2 separate regions of the Homo sapiens genome follow, and region 2 is linked to region 1. The links are contacts of gene promoters, found by promoter capture Hi-C in human tissues and cell types (Jung and others, 2019). All regions are on one chromosome and are shown on one strand. Each heading gives the region's core, a stretch centred on a gene start or on the middle of the fragment in contact. The rest is flanking DNA. Distances are from core to core; before and after follow the strand shown.

Region 1 (3,640 bases), core at 504-3,003:
ACTGCAGTCCCAGATTCCTGGGAAGCTGATGTGGGAGGATTGCTTGAATCCATGAGTTCTGGGCTGTAGTGTGCTATGCCAGTTGGGTGTCTGCACTAAGCTCAGCATCAATATGGTGGCCTCCTTGGAGCAAATCACCAGGTTGCCTAAGGAGGGCTAAACGGGTCCAGGTTGGAAATGGAGCAGGTCAAAACTCCTATGCTGATTAGTAGTGGGACCATGCCTGTGAATAGCTACTGCACTCAAGCCTGGGCAATAAGCAAGACCCTGTCTTGGAAAAAAAAATATACCCGGAATGCAGTATTTCTAGATTTATAGAACACCATCATGGTTTTGATAATAACTGGTGAAGCCCAGCCTGGGAAGCAAGATAACTAGCCTCATTCTTTCTAAAAACACTTCTTTGCTGCATTAATAACCAACAGAGGAATTCAACTCCTTGGAACCTTCCTTCCAGGATGCATACAGGTGATGGTGTAGTGATACCTGTGAATTGCAACATGACTTTTTCAGTCTCAGTACTGTATCTAGTTCATGGTATAATCTTGGGAATGTTAAGGATGCAACTGGGAGCTTCACTAAGTCCTCTGGATTCCCTGGCTACCACTAAGCATACTAAGACATAGCCTAATTGTCCCAAAGAATTAACAGAGTTGGGTTTCAATCAAACCTGTCACCATTGTTTTAAATTATGGGCTCTAATAGAGCTGGCATTGGAACTTGAAAAGAAACTCATGTAATTATATTCTTCTAATGATATAGCAAATGAATTTTTGCTTTTAGAAAAAATATTGGGTAGTGAAGAGCCACATTCTTTTTTATCCACCTAAACTGATTACACACACTTAGCAATGGAACAAAAAATTAAAGGTATAACAGGTACCAACTTCATACAAAATGCACACACACAGAGGATATATAAATGTGTGTACACATACACATATGTTCCTTGGCCCCTGTCTGCTGTTGATAAATCAAAATCTAGATAATAGTGTGGTTTTGTCTTGAACATTTCTATCTGAATGAAAACAACACAGTGTAGGAGTTCCTTGCCCTCGCTTTGAATGCTTAGGACAATGCAAATTGGGGTTTCCCAGCATATTGCAACCGAATCCTCTTCAGGCCCTGTCAGCTGTGCTCCAGACAATGCCATCCCCAAAGACAGAATTGCTATGGTTCATAACAGTGAAACCCACAGGACAAGTGTCCAAGAGTTTCACTCCTTTCTTTTGTGGAAACAGCCTCCACCCTCAGGCAAAGAGGAAACCCAGGGTTGGCCTTGACTAACAGCTTGCATAGGTATGGTGGAGCCAGGGTGTTTCAGTAAGGGTGGTGTGGTCATTTGCCTCTGCATTTATAGTAAAAGAAAACTGATAATGGAGTCCCAAGAGACAGCAGTCAGGGAAAATATGAAACATCAAGTCCAAGAGAATGAGCAAAAAGCAAAGCCAAACTTTCTGGTGGAGGAAGCAGTAGGGTGTGGGGTCGGGATTTTTTTCTAAGTGCACACCCCTGCAGCAGAGTAACCAGCCAGAGCTGGGGGAAAAATTAGGATAGCTACCTGTTAGGCATGTAGGGGTGTGTTTGCATGTTTAGTACGGCATAAATTCTTCAAAGACCTGATGGTCTTTAATATTCCAACCAACTCTCGTTTCCCCATTTTGTCATTAAATTAGCTTAAAGAGGAACTTGTAGCTTTTAGAGAACTCATGAGTTTTCCGCTTCATCATCTGCTTCTGTTTTCTCCATCTTAGTTTGCCCAAAGCTTGCTGGCCGCTGTGTAGGGCTGGTGAGTGGCTGGGGCTGTCTGAGCCATGAACAACTTCAGGGCCACCATCCTCTTCTGGGCAGCGGCAGCATGGGCTAAATCAGGCAAGCCTTCGGGAGAGATGGACGAAGTTGGAGTTCAAAAATGCAAGAATGCCTTGAAACTACCTGTCCTGGAAGTCCTACCTGGAGGGGGCTGGGACAATCTGCGGAATGTGGACATGGGACGAGTTATGGAATTGACTTACTCCAACTGCAGGACAACAGAGGATGGACAGTATATCATCCCTGATGAAATCTTCACCATTCCCCAGAAACAGAGCAACCTGGAGATGAACTCAGAAATCCTGGAATCCTGGGCAAATTACCAGAGTAGCACCTCCTACTCCATCAACACAGAACTCTCTCTTTTTTCCAAAGTCAATGGCAAGTTTTCCACTGAGTTCCAGAGGATGAAGACCCTCCAAGTGAAGGACCAAGCTATAACTACCCGAGTTCAGGTAAGAAACCTCGTCTACACAGTCAAAATCAACCCAACTTTAGAGCTAAGCTCAGGTTTTAGGAAGGAACTCCTTGACATCTCTGACCGTCTAGAGAACAACCAGACGAGGATGGCCACCTACCTGGCAGAACTCCTGGTGCTCAACTATGGCACCCACGTCACCACCAGTGTCGACGCTGGGGCTGCTCTTATTCAGGAGGACCACCTCAGGGCCTCCTTCCTCCAAGACAGCCAGAGCAGTCGTAGTGCCGTGACCGCCTCTGCTGGACTTGCCTTTCAAAACACCGTGAACTTCAAATTTGAGGAAAACTATACCTCGCAGAATGTCCTCACCAAGAGCTACCTCTCAAACCGAACCAACTCCAGGGTGCAGAGCATTGGAGGGGTTCCTTTTTACCCAGGCATCACCCTCCAGGCCTGGCAGCAGGGTATCACCAACCACCTGGTGGCCATCGACCGCTCTGGCCTGCCGCTGCATTTCTTCATCAACCCCAACATGCTACCTGACTTGCCAGGCCCCCTGGTGAAGAAGGTGTCAAAGACAGTGGAAACTGCTGTGAAGCGCTATTATACATTCAACACCTACCCTGGCTGCACAGATCTCAATTCTCCCAACTTCAATTTTCAGGCCAACACGGATGATGGCTCCTGCGAGGGGAAAATGACCAACTTCTCTTTCGGTGGGGTTTATCAGGAATGCACTCAGCTCTCAGGGAATAGGGATGTCCTCCTCTGCCAAAAGTTGGAGCAGAAGAATCCACTCACTGGTGATTTCTCCTGCCCCTCTGGCTACTCCCCGGTGCACCTGTTATCCCAGATCCACGAGGAGGGTTACAACCACCTGGAGTGTCATCGAAAGTGCACTCTCCTCGTCTTCTGCAAGACCGTGTGTGAAGATGTGTTCCAGGTGGCAAAAGCTGAATTTAGGGCTTTTTGGTGTGTGGCCAGCAGCCAAGTACCTGAAAACTCAGGACTGCTTTTTGGGGGCCTCTTCAGCAGCAAGAGCATAAACCCCATGACAAATGCACAGTCATGCCCAGCCGGCTACTTTCCACTGAGACTCTTTGAAAACCTCAAGGTATGTGTTTCTCAGGACTATGAGTTGGGAAGCAGGTTTGCGGTCCCCTTTGGCGGGTTCTTTAGCTGCACAGTTGGGAACCCCCTGGTAGATCCTGCTATATCCAGAGATTTAGGGGCACCGTCTCTGAAAAAGTGCCCCGGGGGCTTCAGCCAGCACCCAGCCCTCATCAGCGATGGATGCCAAGTGTCCTATTGCGTCAAATCCGGGCTCTTCACAGGAGGGTCCCTGCCCCCTGCCAGGCTCCCACCTTTCACCCGGCCACCCCTCATGAGTCAGGCTGCCACCAATAC
Region 2 (3,640 bases), core at 682-3,181, 390 kb before region 1:
GATGGAAAGACATGTACAGATTTTTAAAATATTAAAGAAGAATCAATAGGACTTGATAACTGGCTGTGAGGAAGGAAGCAAAAGTAAGAGAAGGATGCCCCTTAATTTTCTGGCTTGGACAACTGGGAGGGCCCTGAAAGTTGGATTGGGGAACATCAAAGGGAAAAGCAGAGACAACATAGGAAACTGATGAGGCTGGGTGTGGTGCCTCACACCTGTAGTCCCAGGTGTGGATCACTTGAGCCTGGGAGTTGAAAGATTAGCCTGAGCAACATGGCAGAATCCCACCTCTATATTAACTACAAAAATTAGCTGGGCATTGTGGCTCATGCCTGTAGTCCCAGCTACTTGGGAGGCTCAGGTAGGAGGATCACTTGAACTTGTGAGGTTGAGGCTGCAGTGAGCCATGATTGTGCCACTGCACTCCAACCTGGGTGACAGAGCAAGAACATGTCTCAAAAAAAAAAAAAAAAAAAAAAAAACTGAAGGTGATGAGTTCACTTTGGGATGCATTAATTTTGAAGTTACTTTGAGCCGTTGAATAGGGAGTTGGATATTCTATTCTGAATCTCAGTAAGTGCTGGGCTAGAATTAGTGATTTAGTAGCCATTAGCCTATAGGCAGTGGTTGAAACCATGGGAGTAAATATCCTGTTTACCTTTTAGCTTCTCTGTAACAGGGAATAGATTTTTAAGCTTACGTTGCTTGCCTCCTTCCTTTATTTATTTATTAAGCAAACTTTATCAGATCCCTATTATGTACAGAGCAACTAAATTAGGAGCTGGAGATCTATATATGAATAAACTCAAAAATGTGTTTTTAAATTGCATGTGATCCATCTGGAGAGATAGAAAATCAGTCACGATACTGCTGTGCATGTGTAAAATAGAAGTTTGTGCAAAATGCAGTGGAAATGTAGAGAAGAGACTGGCTGCTTATGAGACTGGTGGGGAGATGTCACAAAGTAGCATTTGCCATAGATCTTAAAGAAAGATTTGCCCTTTCTTAGAAACAGGGGATAGGGATGGACATTCTAGGTAGAGTGAATAGCATATGCTGAGGTATGTAGGCCTGAAAGAAATCTGTGTCCACGACTGGGCACAGTGGCTCATGCCTGTAATCCCAACACTTTGGGAGGCTGAGATGGGTAGATCACTTGAGTCCGTGAGTTCGATACTAGTCTGGGTAACAAGGCAAAATTCCATCTCTACAAAATACAAAAATTAGTCGGCCATGGTGGTACATAACTGTAGTCCCAACTGCTCAGCGGGGCTAAGGTAGGAGGATCACCTGAGCCCGACGAGGTTGAGGCTGCAGTGAGCTGTGATCTGCACTCTACTCCAGACTGTGCCAGAAATCTGTGTGCAAGAAATGGTGAGCAGTTCAGTGTGGCTGCATTGTAGGGTGCAGTGCTAAGTACACATGCCTGGCGAGGAGAATACAAGGCAGGTGATGGCCGTATTATGAAGGTCTCTTTATGTTCATAACCAGTAGTTAGTATTTGATCCTCATGTTAGTGGGGAGCCAGTGGAGGGACTTGATATAATCATATTTGTGGGTTTTTTCTCTAAACCTCTTCTTTGATTTTTCAAGTAGGCTTCTAATATTTTTCTTTTTAAACCTTCTTCCTGCACACTGAAGGCTCCTAATTTTTAAGGTCAGTTGTTTCTCTTAGTGACCAAAATAAAAACCAAATGAGTTTCCCCATACTTGGTCTACCTCAGTGTGGATTCTCTGTTCTCAGTGTCTGAAGTCCTTAGCTTTCAGTTACTTGAGTTTAGTCAAGAATTTGTTGAAAGCAGTTATCCTGTGTGTGCTCTCATCCTTCTTTCAGTCAGCAGTTCTCTACTTTTGGTGCAGTTCACATACCTGCTCTTTTTGATGTTGTCACAAATACTTCGTCTGGGTTTACTGCTCACTTGGCATTTGTTTGGTTCTCGTGACCAGGAAAGTGTAAAAGAACCATGACAACCATATTTACTTTTTTTCTGGGTTTGACCTTGATTTCAGCGTGGAGCTAGCTGTCCCTGATACCTTGGCATAAAAGGGAAAGTCTTTCATTGTAATTTGCCAGTTAAAAGTTCCCAGAATAAGGTTACTCAATGGGCTTGCAGAAGCCTGAGGGGAAACTCTGACTAGTTGAGCTGACACAGTCAACGCTTTCTCCATACAGGCCTGCAGAGATTTCCTCATGTTAGCCCAGACCCATAGTAAAAAATGGCAAAAGTCACTACAGTATGAAAGAGACCAGCGTATCCGACTGGAAGAAACCCTCGAGCAGCTGGCGAAGCAGCATAATCACCTGGAGAGGGCCTTCCGAGGAGCCACGGTGCTGCCGGCAAACACTCCTGGCAATGTGGGTTCTGGTAAAGGTAAGACACTTAGCTCTCAGGTAGCCTGGTCTAAGGTGAGCCAGATGGTTTTCTGCAGTTGATAGGAGAACTCCAAACTCTTCACAGTCAATGAGTCATGTGAAATGGAATTGGAACCCATTGATTTATTCTGGATTTTCCACTGCTTTCTACCATTTTTTGCTGTGTTTGTGGTTAGTATTTAAAAGAACTTGCTATATCAGACATTTGGTAAAGATAACCAAAGTCAACAAATGGGGCTTTTCTTCTTGTAGATCAGTGCTGCTCTGGCAAAGGGGACATGAGCGATGAAGATGATGAGAATGAATTTTTTGATGCACCTGAGATCATCACCATGCCTGAAAATTTGGGCCACAAGTGAGTTATCCTTGATTGTTGAAGCAAATAAACATATCTTCACCATCAATATGGTGGTATTTTAGCATCATATTTTAACCATCAAAAGGTTAAAAACATTTCAGTGAGAGTATTATAATTGTCAATATTGAATCTGGGCCCTTTTCCCTTTTTTTTTTTTTTTTTTTGTCTCAAGATCTCTTTGTAGAATGGGCCCTTTTTCTTAAGTAAGTGAAAAAATGTCAGCTTTTTTACGTAAACAAATTCTCCAGAGATACTTAAATTCATTCCTACTCTAAATGTCGTCATTTGATCACCCATCAATAAGTTTATACAGTGTACTTGGCATTCTGCTTTGTAAAGAAATGTCCAGGACCACACTCTAGTTCTGGTCTTTGTTCTAATTCTCCTGTGTTTCCCATCTGTACAGACGTACTGGCAGCAATATCAGTGGAGCCAGCAGTGACATCAGCCTTGATGAACAGGTAATTCTTATATGGGAGATCTCAGAGGTGAGGGACGTGGGTTGTGATTCCCAAGGATTTTTTTTTTTTTTTTGTGAAGTGCTAAGAGAAACTGATTTTTTTTTCTTTTTTTAGCACGGGGGAAGGGAAGGTTATAAATACCAGGTTTTCTGTTCTTTGTGGGTGGTTGAATGGCTTTGTTTTGCTCTCAGTACAAGCATCAGCTGGAGGAGACCAAAAAGGAAAAGAGAACCAGAATACCATACAAGCCAAACTATAGCCTCAATTTATGGAGCATCATGAAGAACTGCATTGGAAAAGAACTCTCTAAGATCCCCATGCCGGTAAGGTTCTTGCACACTGGAGCTGCTGCCAGGAGTTCCTCTCAAGCCTCAGTGGGAAGAGTGCTGATATGACAGCCCCACCCACTTGTGCGGCAGTTTGTGGCATGGTCTTTTTTACCTTTAT

Evidence for each region. The method cuts DNA at HindIII sites, captures the fragments that hold promoters and counts their contacts. A contact is called where the count stands out against the background at its distance.
Region 2: a fragment that was not itself captured here is called in contact with the fragment with the promoter of MPEG1 in region 1 in 1 of the 25 tissues and cell types used here (thymus).

Annotation. Positions count from the first base shown.
Region 1 is chr11:59,211,040-59,214,679 of GRCh38, reverse strand. It overlaps MPEG1 (macrophage expressed 1), which reads left to right and starts at 1,753. Exons shown (of 1, transcript NM_001039396.2): 1 at 1,753-3,640. The coding sequence starts at 1,815. It also overlaps the pseudogene RN7SL42P. RefSeq lists an enhancer at 1,577-1,776. The HindIII fragment of the contact is 9,754 bases long and covers 1-3,640 here.
Region 2 is chr11:59,600,372-59,604,011 of GRCh38, reverse strand. OSBP (oxysterol binding protein) reads left to right here. Exons shown (of 14, transcript NM_002556.3): 4 at 2,174-2,372; 5 at 2,627-2,729; 6 at 3,139-3,193; 7 at 3,385-3,516. Among named protein-coding and RNA genes, the nearest start is that of MIR3162, 7.0 kb to the right of the region's middle. The HindIII fragment of the contact is 4,373 bases long and covers 1-3,640 here.